2 separate regions of the Homo sapiens genome follow, and region 2 is linked to region 1. Evidence: promoter capture Hi-C in 16 types of primary human blood cells and fetal thymus (Javierre and others, 2016). All regions are on one chromosome and are shown on one strand. Each heading gives the region's core, a stretch centred on a gene start or on the middle of the fragment in contact. The rest is flanking DNA. Distances are from core to core; before and after follow the strand shown. Region 1 holds the start of IL2RG (interleukin 2 receptor subunit gamma). Region 2 overlaps HUWE1 (HECT, UBA and WWE domain containing E3 ubiquitin protein ligase 1).

Region 1 (2,700 bases), core at 1-2,500:
CCTGGCCTAGACAAGTCAGGATCCTGAAGGTAGTGCCCCTAATACCTCCTCCCTTCCCATCATGATCCCCTACCTCCTCTTTTCTGCCCATGTACCCTTATGATAAAAGAACACTACTCTGTAGACTCCAATGTCCCACAGTATCCCTGGTCTCTTGACCCTTTCTTTCCAAATTACCCAGATTCTGCAGTTTTAGCATCTGTGTGGCCTGTCTCCTGGGTTCCCGTGGGTCCTGGAGCTGAACAACAAATGTTTGGTAGAGGTGGATCTCCTTTTTTTGCAACTGACAGCCAGAAGTGATTTCTTCAGAGAATAGATAGTGGCTGCACTTCTGGACTTTATCATTATCCGAGTTCTTGTACCTAGAGGAGAAAGGTTGGAAGGAAGAGGAACAGTGGGGCCAATCTGGGTACTGCAGATATCCAGAGCCTAGCCTCATCTCCCCTCAACCGACTTATGACTTACCCCAGGAGAAAACAGTGGGGTACCTGGGAGACTTGCTACCCTCTCTCTTGGTCTCTGATCCAACCCACCTCTTCTTCATCCCCTCCCCCTCGTCCCTTCTCATACCAATAATGCAGAGTGAGGTTGGTAGGCTGGGGCTCAGAGCTGCTGTTCCAAGTGCAATTCATGTACTCGACATTGAACACAAAACACTGAACCTCTGGGAGGGGCAGAGTGGAAACACTGAGGGAGTCAGTGGGCATAGTGGTCAGGAAGAAATCTAGATTGGGGAGAAAATGAAGGCAGGGAGGGAAAGAGAAATGATGGTCAGAAGGAGGAGGCCAAGCACGGTGGCTCATGTCTGTAATCCTGGTGCTTTGAAAGGCTGAGGCAGGAGGATCACTAGAGGCCAGGAGTTTGAGACCAGCCTAGGCAACATAGTGAGACCCTGCCTCAAAAGAAAGAAAGAAACAAACAAACAAGAAAGAAAGAAGAAGTAGCGTGAGGCAGGGAACCCTCCCCCTTGCCCTTCCCACTCCACTTTTCAATTCTGCCCACATGATTGTAATGGCCAGTGGCAGGCACCAGATCTCTGTACGGCCCCTTCCCACAGCCACCCTTCTCACCAGCCCCCTCCAGTCCCAGATTTCCCACCAGCTGTGGTGTCTTCATTCCCATTGGGCGTCAGAATTGTCGTGTTCAGCCCCACTCCCAGCAGGGGCAGCTGCAGGAATAAGAGGGATGTGAATGGTAATGATGGCTTCAACATGGCGCTTGCTCTTCATTCCCTGGGTGTAGTCTGTCTGTGTCAGGAACCTGGGTCCCTCACCCACTACCCCTCCCCACCCACACGTTTCCTCTGTCATAGCTTCCGGTGGAAAGAACCTTATAAACCAGGGCTTTACAGAGGGTGTGGCAAATATGTGCTGTGTGACACGGGCTAAGTCCTCTAGGAGATTAGGTGCTGCTGTAAGGTGGTAAACAGAAACTAAAGCTGGATATACAATAGTGTCACAGACTCAAAAATCCTCAGCCCACCTAGATCCTGGGAAGGATCTGTTCACTACCACTAGCACCATTCTCAACCACCTTCTCCTCTAAATCATTACCTTCTATAATGGAAGTTCTGAACCCCCACCCCCGACATCACCGTTCTATGCCATGCCTCTTCCTTGACTTGGTCACCCTTAAATCTCTGTCAAAGCTCTACTGTTTTGGGAGGATGGAAAATACCGTCTTGGCTCCTGTGGGCACATATACAGCTGTCTTTCCTCTGATCTAATCCAAACCAGAATACCCACCCTTAGCTGCTGCCTGAGCTGGGTCCCTGTTGAGACTGGCGAGGAAGTGTGACTTATAATACAAAAATATTCTAGAAATGGAGGAACAACAATACTAGCTTCAAGCTTCCCATCTTCCCCCAACTCTGCTTCTCTTCCTGCCTTCCCCACCTCAGTCAATGGTATCGTCACCCTCTCAGTCACCCAGACTTGAAACCTCAGAATCAGCTTCAATTTCTCCCCCTCTCTCACCCAGAGAATATAACCCACTCTGCTTCTGTGGTGTTTCTCCCAACGGTTTCCTCCTTTCCATTACCACAGCCACTCTGCTAAATCAGTCTTTCATTAGCTCTAGTCATGATTCTATCTAGACTCCATCAACTGGCCTCCCTTTCTAAAGGCCCTCTGCTCTCTAATCCATTCTTCATCCTGTTGCCAGTTTTACCTTCCCCGAAAACACAGAGGTGATTGGAGAAGCCACTTACAGAAACTATTTATTCAGCAAACATTTATTACGTTTTTAATATGTGCCAGGCACTGTGCTTATGTTCTGGAAATAGACCAACAAGACATCCTCATATTTCTAGACACTCACAGAAAAGTGGGGAAGACATAAACAAGTAATACAACATAGTGTAACAAGTCCTATAGCATAAATGTAGAGATACTACAAAGTATGTGAGCACAGAAGAGGAAGTAACTAAATTTACCAAGATGGAGAGGGGGATAGTTTAGTGAAGGCTGTGCTGAAGAGGTGCTATTTCAGTGGCATCTTAAAGAATGAGTGTAATTTTACCAGACAGAAAGTGGTGTAGGATATTAAGCAAAGAAAAACAGCACTTGCCTGGGAGTCTCAGGAAAACTGGACTATATGGCCCAGCTTAGTATTTAGTATGTATCTTTAGTATGTATTAGTTTGCTAGGGCTGCCATAAGTTATCCCCAAACTGAGTGGCTTAAACCAACAGAAATTTATT
Region 2 (2,912 bases), core at 371-2,870, about 17 Mb before region 1:
GCTAAAAGAAAACAATGCTGAACATGTAATCTACAAAGGAGAAACAAATGATAGGGAATTAACTGCCTATAGTAACGGTGGCATGGGGGGAAGAGGAAATAAAGAACAGGGCAGACTGGGGGGCAGGACAATCAATGCTGTTTTCTAGTAAATGGAAGGGGTAAAATGTAGTGGAGCCTGAGAGGAGGGTTATCTTCCTTCTAAGGGATTCAGCTCCTGGAAAAGGAGTATGGGGAGTGGGGGATAGAAAGATTAAGAAGTGAGAAGCAGGTAAGAGGTGCTCAGCAGCAAAAATAGATGTCCACAGACCAAGAGGCTCCAGAAACTCAGAGCAAGGCAGGGAAAAGGGGCGGTTCCCAGGCTTGCAGGGGAAATGGAAGAGGCAGGGAAGACAGAAAGCGGGTTTACTGGAGAGTTATCCTCTACAGCCTTCTGAGGGGGAGGAATGAGGAAGGCAAGGCTAATGGCCGTAAACGAAAAGGCCACTTAAACTGCAATATCCAAACACCGACCCGTTCATAGTTTCGCTTAATAGTGGTTTAGCAGCATGCAGAGCTAAGAAATCCGGATCAGAGTCATACAAACATGAAGACTTGAGGAAATGGAAGGCTACTATGGCACCATCCACAAAGATGGAGTAAATGCAGGCAACAGGATAAGCTCTATTCAACGCCTGCGCCAAGGGGACCAATGGAAGGGGGAGACAGAGCGGGCTAGAGGACTTAGGCTAAACTCGAATTTAGAACTGGGGAAGGAGTCACAGGGAAAAGCTTTGACTCCCCCCTCCCTTAAATACCAGCCTCAACTATCCACGTAGATGAAGATTAGATGGGACGACAGAATTAGGAGGGGTGTGGGGAGAGGAGGAGGAGTACACCAGTGACACTACTGCTTGAACCCTAAGCCTTAGCTCTAAAACCGCGAGAGTTGGCGAAGATGACCCCACCTCGAGAAAAACCAGGGTATTCATCCGGGTCGTCGGAGGTGCTGAGAACGGAGGTTGGCCGGCAGAAAAGGTAGGGGAAAGGGGCCACTCTTCATTGGTTGCTCCTCTTTCCCACCGTTCAATTTAACCCCCAACCCCACTCCCCAGCGAACTCCAGACTCCCCTCCCACCCTTCCCAATCCGCCCACTGCGGCGGCGACAACGGAGGCGTTGACCGATCGGTGGGGCAAAGGCGGGCCCACACGCGGCCGAGGCCCAGGAAATGGTGTCGCCTCAACGGACAAGAAACGAGGTGGTCTTCGCCTCAGGTCTAGTTTACCGGCACCCCGGCGTTTCGCCAATCGTCACCTCCTTAACGCTGGGCACCTCAGAGGCGTCATAAAGGCAGATAGCCAACACCTCTGTGCTGGGTCCTGGCCGGACAGACATCAGCCTCCGCCGCCATCTTAACAGCAGGCGGACCGACCCTAGTCACTGCCCCCCCACCCCCCACCCGCGAGCTACCTCAGCCACCGCCAACGAATCCCACGAGGACGTAACCCTGCTCCCGCGAGAATTCTCCGGCTTAGAACGGCACGAGCCGAAGACCTTGCCGCCGCCTCCGCGGCTACTGCAGTCAGTAACCGAGCCACCGCCGCCTCCGCGCGATCCCGCGAGAACCTCTACCGGACGGGAAAAGCCTGAGCCCAGCCCTTTCCAGACCCCTCCTCCCTCCCACCAAAGCCGAAGTAGCTACAGCTTCACCCTACGCGAAGCGAAAAGCAAATGACGCACAACCTAACGAAGCAGTGAGGGGCGGAGCCAACCTACCACGGCCGGCTCCCGCATGCGTTGAGAACTATCGCGATATTACGCTTTAGCCTCGGCGAGACCTTCTTAATTCACCGCAGGATGCCGCCCGCGCCTCGCCTTTAGGAAACATGAGATATCGCGAGACCTGGTGCACACTCCTAAAAAGGAGAAAGGCGGAGCTTCATGAAAATGACTGGGAGTTTTTCGGGGGAAGGGAGGAACCCTCCCGTCCTGCAGGGATCTCGCCTACCACGAGGTTTCCGACCCACTGCGGAGCTGGCTGCCAAACCTCGCGATGACACAGCTCAGCGCCAAATCTCGGCCATGTCCTGAAAACTGCCTCCGCCCCCGATCTAGGTGTCTAGAGCCTAGTGCTTGAGGAAAATTTAAAAAGTCAACCTGTTTATTCTCACGCTTCCGGGCAAGGCTGTACCAATTAGCCAAACTCCATTCTGGAAGCGGAGCAAAGAGTCCCCCATTGTTACCTGTCTCCAGGAATAACATATTATCCTGGACTAACATTTAAAAGACGTTCAATCTCACAGTAAGCACACAAATGCAAATGAAAACAATGACATAACATTTTTTGCCCATTAGATAGGGAAAAAAATTTTTAAACCTACATTATCCAGACTCCTTCCCTCGCCGCACTGCAGGCTAACCTGAATCCATCTTAATCTAACTAAAGGCCATATCATTAGTTCTAGTTCCAAAGCCACCAATTTTAACTACTGAAGCTTTACCTTGGCATAACCAAAAAGATCCAATAAAGTGGTTTTCTCCAAACAAAGGAGTCTGCCCTCAAAGGAATATTCAAGCTTCGGGGATGGGGGGAAATGCCTGAAGCTTTTAATATGGCAGTTTTTCCACGTCTAGCCAACAGTGTTTCTCCAATAAATCTTGGGATCCAATCTGGCTTGATTTGTGGGCTTTTCCATTCTAATGCATTGTTCTGTCCGTTCTAATTTAAATAGTTCCTTTAGAGTACATTTTAATAGCCAGTAGTACAAATATCCCTATCTTTACTTACGTTTTAAAATATTTTTTTTCAGTTATTCTTAGCCATTTTTTTCCCCCGGATGAACTTTAGAATCATAGTAAGTTCCAAAAAAACTTGGTATATTTATTGAAATTGCATCAACTGTATAAACCAATATAGGAAAAATGGACATCA

Evidence for each region. The method cuts DNA at HindIII sites, captures the fragments that hold promoters and counts their contacts. A CHiCAGO score of 5 or more calls a contact.
Region 2: a contact is called between a fragment that was not itself captured here and the fragment with the promoter of IL2RG in region 1, in 1 of 17 cell types (fetal thymus). The highest score is 6.9, in fetal thymus.

Annotation. Positions count from the first base shown.
Region 1 is chrX:71,110,327-71,113,026 of GRCh38, forward strand. It overlaps IL2RG (interleukin 2 receptor subunit gamma), which reads right to left and starts at 1,251. Exons shown (of 8, transcript NM_000206.3): 1 at 1,099-1,251; 2 at 571-724; 3 at 178-362. The coding sequence starts at 1,213. RefSeq lists enhancers at 712-1,911, 1,014-1,403. The HindIII fragment of the contact is 3,788 bases long and covers 1-1,848 here.
Region 2 is chrX:53,682,424-53,685,335 of GRCh38, forward strand. All of the region lies in intron 2 of HUWE1 (HECT, UBA and WWE domain containing E3 ubiquitin protein ligase 1), which reads right to left. Among named protein-coding and RNA genes, the nearest start is that of HUWE1, 2.8 kb to the right of the region's middle. The HindIII fragment of the contact is 1,705 bases long and covers 769-2,473 here.